Regions from separate parts of the Homo sapiens genome. Here region 1 is linked to region 2. Evidence: promoter capture Hi-C in 16 types of primary human blood cells and fetal thymus (Javierre and others, 2016). All regions are on one chromosome and are shown on one strand. Each heading gives the region's core, a stretch centred on a gene start or on the middle of the fragment in contact. The rest is flanking DNA. Distances are from core to core; before and after follow the strand shown.

Evidence for each region. Contacts are between HindIII fragments. The CHiCAGO score rates a contact against its expected background, and 5 or more counts as called.
Region 1: a fragment that was not itself captured here is called in contact with the fragment with the promoter of SDK1 in region 2 in 3 of 17 cell types (endothelial precursors, M2 macrophages and M1 macrophages); the score reaches 8.7 in endothelial precursors.

The regions. Positions count from the first base shown.
Region 1 is chr7:4,481,846-4,485,468 of GRCh38, reverse strand. No RefSeq gene overlaps it. Among named protein-coding and RNA genes, the nearest start is that of FOXK1, 200 kb to the left of the region's middle. The HindIII fragment of the contact is 1,259 bases long and covers 1,712-2,970 here.
Region 2 is chr7:3,299,284-3,303,380 of GRCh38, reverse strand. It overlaps SDK1 (sidekick cell adhesion molecule 1), which reads right to left and starts at 2,129. Exons shown (of 45, transcript NM_152744.4): 1 at 1,497-2,129. The coding sequence starts at 1,794. It overlaps SDK1-AS1 (SDK1 antisense RNA 1), which reads left to right. Exons shown (of 3, transcript XR_001744897.3): 1 at 1-1,152. RefSeq lists enhancers at 1,328-1,828, 2,538-3,049, 3,050-3,562 and a silencer at 2,103-2,652. The HindIII fragment of the contact is 8,975 bases long and covers 1-4,097 here.

The sequences.
Region 1 (3,623 bases), core at 1,092-3,591, 1.2 Mb before region 2:
ACAATTCCAGACACAATCAAACGCAGCTTTTTTTCCTCCTACTTCCACTTTCGCCCATCCCCCAAATTGAGACTGGATTGGCCGTGGTTTTTTGGTTCACTCTTATGCAAGGGACAGTCCCAGGTCAGTTTCAGAAGCAAAAGCAGTCTCAAGCCAGTTGAGCAACACTGAACAGATTGTCTAATTTGAGACGTTAATTAAAGCTCCATGCTGGATTCAGCATTAAATCCCCCTTCTAGTTTGGGGCTGCTTTGGGCTGGAAGCCTGCGGAGGGCAAGGGGAGACCTGGCTGGTGTCTTCCCTCCATGGTCCTGCTTCCTCCCTGCCCTCTGCAGCTTAGAGAGAGGAGGGACAGGGCAGCTCGCCATTGTGGATGTTGTCAGCCAACTCCTGACTCTCTGAACCTGGAGATCAGATGTGCAGACATCCCTCTCTCTTCTCTCTCTGCCCTTTTTCTCTCTCCCCACCTCCTCTCTCTCTCACTCCTCTCACCTCTTTTTCTCTCCCCTCCTCTTTCTCTCTCTTCTCTCCCTTCCCTCACCTTCCCCCTCTCTCCTGTCTATCCCCAATCTTTCTCCCTCTCCCTCTTTCTCTCTCCCTTCTCACTCCCCTTTCTCTCTCCTTCCTCTCTCTTCCTCCTCTCTCTCTCCCTCCTCTCCCCCTCTCCCTCCTTTCTCTTCCTCCTCTCCCTCCTCACTCTTCCTCCTCTCTCCTCGTTTTCTCCCTCTCCCTCTTTCTCTCTCTCCCTCCTCTCTCCCCTTCTCTCTCCATCCTCTTTCTCCCTCCCCTCTCTCACCTCTCTTTTCCTCCTCTCTCCCTCTTCTCTCTCTCCTCTCTCTTCCTCCTCTCCCTTTCTCTCCCTCCTCTCCCCCTTTCCCTCTCCACTCTCTTCTTCCTCTTTTCCCCTCCTCTTTCCCCCTTCTCTCTTCCTCCCCCTTTCCCTCTCCCCCTCCCCCTTTCTCTCTCCCCCTCCTCTCTCCCTTTCCTCTCTCTCTCTTATCATTCCCTGCTCTTTTTCTTATTTCTCCCTGCTCTCTTTCTCTCTCTTGTCTCTCTCCCCTCCTGTCTCCCCCCTTTCTCTCTCTCCTCTCCTACCTCCCCCTTTTCTCTCTCCCCCTTCCCATTCTCTCTCCCTGCCTTCTCTCCCTCTTCTCTCTCTCCCTCTACTTCTGTCTCTGAAACCAACCTAGTAGTCCCATAGACAAGTTTTTTTGTTTTTTGGATAAACATAGAAGTTGACCCATCTGATCAAGTTCTTAAAGCTTGAAACTTGGCTTTGTTTTATCTGAGTTCCTGTTTTCTTACACATAGTTACATTTCTTCCCTGCTAAAGAAAGGCCTTTAGTGGGTCAAGAAGATGGATTTGAGACTGAGCTCCCATCTCAGCTGCTGCACCCGATTAAAGCCTTCTCCCTCAGCAACACTCATTGTCTCAGTGATTGGCTTTCTGTGCAGTGAGCAGCAGGGCCTAGACCAAACCCCTGGTGTTTTGGTAACATCTCTCCCCCTCTCTCTTGTCTTTCCCTCTTCTCTCTCTTTCCCTCCCTCTCCTCTTTCTCTCTTTCTCCCTTTCTCTCCACCTTCTGCAACTCTATACAGACTCCCTACTGGGGGCTCTTCCCCGGCAGTTCCCTTAGCAGAGGCAGATGCATATCTCTTCTGGGCAGTTGTTCCAGATTGCTACTGCTACCCAACAAATCAACCCTAAGCTTAGCAGCTCACAACGACCATTTTTGTTTTGCTTATGATTTCATGGGTAAGGAATTTGGGAAGGGTTTGGTGGGGCGGTTCTTGTGCAGGGCCTCTCATGGGGTCACCAGCCCAGAGTGCTGGGGCTACAGCATCTCCAGGCTGCATGGGGCTGGATGTCCAAGGTGGTGCACATGGAGGGCTCAGGTGGGCTGTGGATTAGATGCCCACAGGTGGCCTTTCCAGACAGCTGGGCTCTGAGAGGTGTCCCAGGGACTGGCACTCATGCCCAGAGATCCAGGTAGCCATGTCCTCAGACTCCTCAGGCACATAAGTCAACCAGCTGGGGGTTAGGACACATCACACGTCTTAGGAATTGCTGGGCTTCCTTCCCCTAGGACTTTTCCTCTTGCTTTCCTACAATTTGCTACTTTCCAGCTATATAAGGAGATTTTTAAGCAATGGAGAGAGAAGTCTGTCCTCTTATTTATTTATTTATTTATTATTAGTATATATATATTTCTTTTAGAAACAGAGACAGGGAGGCCAGGTGCAGTGGCTCACACCTGTAATCTCAGCACTTTGGGAGGCCGAGGCGGGTGGATCACCTGAAGGCAGGAGTTTGAGACCAGCCTGGCCAACATGGTGAAACCCCGTGTCTACTAAAAATACAAAAAAAAAAAAAAAAAATAGCTGGGTGCGGTGGCCGGCGCCTATAATTCCAGCTTGGGAGGCTGAGGCAGGAGAATTGCTTGAACCTGGGAGGCAGAGGCTGCAGTGAGCCAAGATCACACCATTGCACTCCAGCCTGGGGCACAGAGTGAGACTCCATCTTAAAAAAAAAAAAAAAAGGAAATAGAGACAGGAATCTCACTGTGTTGCCCAAGCTGGTCTTGAACCTTGGACTCAAGCAATCCTCTTGCCTCAAACTCCCAAAATGCTGGGATTCCAGGCGTGAGGCACCGTGCCTGGCCCATCTGCTTCAATTTAATCTTGGACAGCCGCTCTGCAAAGAGAATTCTAGAAAGAAACTGTGCCCCTGTGAGGCAGGAAAGTGGCTCTTCTGTCCAGTCCAGTGTCCCAGCATAAGCTCTTTCTAACTAAAATCCGAATCTAAAACCAGAAACCAGATTACTTAGCAAAATGCCATTAAATACAATTTGGGGTACATGTCAATATCTTTTAAGCCCCTTACCAAGCTGTCCTGAATCCTCCCTCCAGCACTGTTCAGTCTCAAGATTACAGCAATTGTCCCCTTCCCTCCCCAAACCCAGCAAAGCTTGGCTCATGGTGGGTGTCTTTGCCTGCCTGGCTTTTTGTGTCTAAAATTGAACCGTGATACTTCAGTGTCATTGCAGAATTCCACCTGAGTTTCCCCACATTTTAGTCATTGCTTAAGAACTAAGGCCTTTCTTTTCTTTTTTTAAAAAACCTTTTATTTTCAGTGCAGGGGTACTTGTATAGGTTTGCTGTATAGGTGTATTCATCCATTTTCATGCTGCTGATAAAGACACACCCAAGACTGGGGGCCGGGCACGGTGGCTCATGCCTGTAATCCCAGCACTTTGGGAGGCCCAGGCGAGTGGATCACAAGGTCAAGAGATCGAGACCAGCCTGGCTAACATGGTGAAACCCCATCTCTACTAAAAATACAAAAACTAGCTGGGCATGGTGGTGGGCACCTGTAGTCCCAGCTGCTTGGGAGGCTGAGGCAGGAGAATCGCTTGAACCCGGGAGGCGGAGGTTGCAGTGAGCCGAGATCACGCCACTGCATTCCAGCCTGGCGACTAAGTGAGACTCCGTCTGGAAAAAAAAAAAAAAAAAAAAAAAAAGATGTACCCGAGACTGGGCAATTATTTATTTATTTTACTTTAAGTTCTGGGATACATGTGCAGAACATGCAGGTTTGTTACGTAAGTATACATGTGTCATGG
Region 2 (4,097 bases), core at 880-3,379:
TGAACGTACAGGTCTTAGTGCAAAATGCAAGTCACTGTTTAAAAAAAGAAAACTTAATAAACACATTATTTTAAAGGTCATCCTAAGTGATTTAGATTTCTTCACTTGAACCTGGTTGCTCTAACAATCTACAGATCCCACTGTACAAAATGACTTAATAAATGCTTTTCTTCCAGAGTAAGTCATTAAGCAAAAAGCACAAATAAGTGAAATGAAAATTTTCCAAGTAATGGAGGAGTTAAATTAACCAGAAATATGGCAATTTGTTTTCATGTAGTAAAACATAAGAGGGAGCATTTATGAAAGCTGGAGGGGGGTGGAGGGGCACAATTTAGATAACGTTACATAAGCATCAATAAAAAAAAGTATGAGTTCGTTGTTAAGCTATTGGATGATAGTTTTGAGCTCAGACCTTTAAAATGTTACAACATTTAAGTCATGTTACTACACATAAATCATCTTCACAGGACACAGAACACAGCTAATTTAAGTTTAATGCTCTCATCTTCGCCAATCTCAGAATATCGAGTTCCTTACCATGATTGTTCGTTAGCTGTATCTTGGAATACAACTAAGTTAATTTTCCTAAAACTACCATCAGCAAAACCAGTTCACTAATGTGTTTTAAAGACGTTACCAAAGGACGTATTAAAATAGTTATTTCTGGGTTGAGGGGGGTGTTTTGGTTTAAAGACCAGCAAACTTCAAAAGAAAACGATGCTAGCTGGCAGGGGTACGTTACGGGTTTTGTCGGGGGCGGGGAGGGGGTGGAGGGAAGCCCAGATTTGGGAAGGAAAGCTCGTTTCACAAGAGATCCCATCTCTCGTTTCAAAAGGTCATTTCCATTCAGCAGATCCTCTTTCCCTATTTCAGAGCTCACCACTGTATTCTAAACAGAAGCCAATAGAGGGAGAAAAACAAAGCCAAGTGCAAAAGCTGTGGGCACTGAAAGTTTTGCTCCACCGGCCGCGCAGCACCCACTTGGGGTCGGGCTTTGGGACTTGGGGGAGTCAGGAGCAGGCGGGGGCTGGGGAGAGGACGAGGCCCTGGGGAGGGGCTGGAAAAGGCTTTTCACAGCGACTGGCACTTGATATTTCCAAGTCTTCTGGATGTCACTCACCGGAAACCAGACCCTGCGGTGCGAAGACTCAGGTACAGACCAGCCCCTTTTTCATCCATGCAATGGGAAGGGGACTCGGGCATCCTTTTAAGGAGCTGAGAAATGGGTCCTCAACTTAAAAATTTTTGTTTGTGCTACTGCGGTATAAAAAAAATAAAACGCAAAGTAGCAGACGGGGTGCAGGCTCTACGGGGCTCCGTTTCCCTCTCCTCCGAGTCTGGCGTGGAGGAGCCCCTGGGCTCCCTAGAGCCCCCAGCAAGGCGCATCCCGACCCGGGCCGGGAAGCGGGGGGACCCCGGACACACTCTCGCTGCTCAAGTTCGCGCCTCCGCGCCCCGAGGCGACGCCCCCGGCCCGCGACCCCGCGCGCACCTACCTTGCGCCAGCGCCCGGAGCAAGTGCAGCTGCAGCGCCAGCAGCGCCCACCAGCCGCGGCGGCCCGGCCCCAACTTTGCCGCCCGCCGCCCGCCGCACCGCCCCGCGCCCGCCGTGTCCCCGCCGGAGGTCTCGGGCGCCGCCCGGGGTCGCGAGGGCTCCGGGCCGGGGCGCGGCGCCAGCGAGGGGCGGGCGCGGCCGGGCGGGGATCCCCGCGGCCGCCCGGGGCCCGCGCGCTCAGGGGGCTCCGCGCCGCCGCCGCCGCCACCGGCCGCCGAGGGCCGGGCGCCCCGGGCCATGCCGAGCAGCCGCCACCCCGAGCGCCGCGCCGGACGGACGGGCGGGCAGGACAGGCGGGACGGCTCCGAGCGGGCGCGGCCACTCCGCGGGAGGCGCGGCGCCCCCCGGCCCGAGGTGAGCGGCCGCCCAGCGCTGAGGGGCGGCGTCCTGGGTCCCCGCGTGAGGGGCGCGGCGCGGGCCGGGGACGAGCCGGGCGAGAAGAAGTTGTCAACGGGGGAAATTCGCGTCCGGCGCTCACGCAGTCCCGAGCCCGCCGCGCTAGCTCCGAGGGGTCCGCCGGGCGCGGAGGAGCCGCCGCCGCCGCCGCCCCCGCCCGGCGCTGAGAAGAAAGTGCGCCCGCCCGCACGTCGCGGTCGCGCTCGCCCTCAGCTGCCGCGGCCGCCGCTCCCCATTCACAGCCCGGCCGCACGCGCCGCCCGCGCCCGCCGCCCGCCGCCCGCCGTTGATTGGCCGAGGGAGGCGGCGCCCGCTCCCAGGGCCCGCCCCCCAGGCCCTCGCTTGTTTTCAAAGTCGCGGCGCCCGCCCGCCTGCAATTTTGTGCCGGCCGCGGCGCCTGGCTCGGGCGGCTTCCCGCGCCGGCTGCGCCCCCTAGGGACCCGTAGTGGGGACTGCAGGCGGCGTCGATTCGGCACGCGCTCCCGTGGCGGGCTCGCGGGCGGGGGTGGTGCATCCTCGCCCGGCCCCGCAGCGGTGCGGGCGCCCGAGTGGGAAGGGCTCAGGTGCAGCAGGACGCGCAGATCGTGCGGCAGCCCAGGGCCGAGGGCGGAATAGGGCGCGCCCCGAGAGGCGCCCGGCTACCACCAGCTAGCTCAGTGCTTGGGGGTGACGCGCCAAGTTACCGTAATTGCAAACACGCGCAATCGGGTTTTTAATTTCTAGCAACCAAAGGCACCACTGGGTGCAAACTCGCCTCCTGTTCAGAGGAGTGGATATGGCATTGTAGAAGCGTCCAAGGTCACTTTTGGCCGGCGCTGGAGGAGGGCGGGGTAGGGAGGGACACATTGCAGGTTTCCCACCGTGGAGTGGGCGAGTCTTGGGGCAGGGTCGGCCAGTGGGAGGGTCTCCCAGGGCGGGACCCGGGAGCCTGTGGGGCTGGGGGTGGGGACGGGCGCCGACGCTCAGCATGTGGTAAGCATTAGCAGAGTTTATGGGGTGAACTAAGCGCACTGGAGGCTGAAAGGCCAGCATTTTTGTGGGAGGAGAGCTGGAGGTGACACGCACTGCCTCTGGAGTTGGCCCGGGAGGAGCCTGGGGACGTGTGATGATGGTCGCATGAGATCATGTAAGAGATGAACGCAGAGGGGCTGGGTGTGAGCCCAGCACGGGGCTGACTCCCCAGGAATCACCTGATGCAGTAGGTTTATTGTCCCAGCCAAGAAAGACCCCGGGCGAGTGGAGAGCAGGTCACAGGGCTGGGGTCTGGGATAGGAGCCAGCTCCTGCTCACAGAGCGCCTATGGTATTTGTCAAATAACTGATTGGTGGCTCAATATTAGCCTCTGTACACGTCCCCTAAGACTTAACAATGACCACGTGAACAAAACAGGGAAACTGAGGTCCAAGTACAGCCGCCGAACAGGAGGTGGTTTCAGAAAGAGGCCTCCCATCTGCCCCCTTTCCACACCATGCTAGGAGGGGCAAAAAAGTTAAAGGAGCCACGGAGTGCCCTGTTCTGAGGATATAGTGAGGGCGCATAGATGGGACGAGCCGGAAGAGGACAGCTCCCCAAGGACATGGGGATGAGACTGGAGGCAGAGAGGCATGTCTGTTTTTATCTTCTGTTGGTAGCAAGGCTGGGTTTCTTCAAACTTGCAAGATTATAATGAGAACCTGCTGGGCGGGGGGAAGCAATACCTCCTGTGCAGTGAGCACTCACTGTAGGCCAGCCCAGGGCAGCAGCAGCAGCAGCTTCACTACCTGCTGTGTGAGAGGTGCTGGCCCTGGTACAGATGGAGAAACTGAGGCATAAAGAAGTGGGCCGGGCGCGGTAGCTCACACCTGTAATCCCAGCACTTTGGGAGGCCGAGGCGGGCGGATCACTTGAGGTCAGTTCAAGACCAGCCTGGCCAACATGGTGAAACCTCGTCTGCAGTTAAAAAAAAAAAAAAGAAAAGAAAAAAGAAAGAAGAAAATGAAGAAGAAAGACAGAAGAAGAAGATGATTAGCCAGGCGTAGTGGCGTGCGCTTGTAGTCCAAGCTACTCGGGAGGCTGAGGCAGGAGAATTGCTTGAACCTGGGAGGTGGAGGTTGCAGTGAGCCGATACCTTGCTACTGCACTCCAGCCTGGGCGACTGAGTGAGACT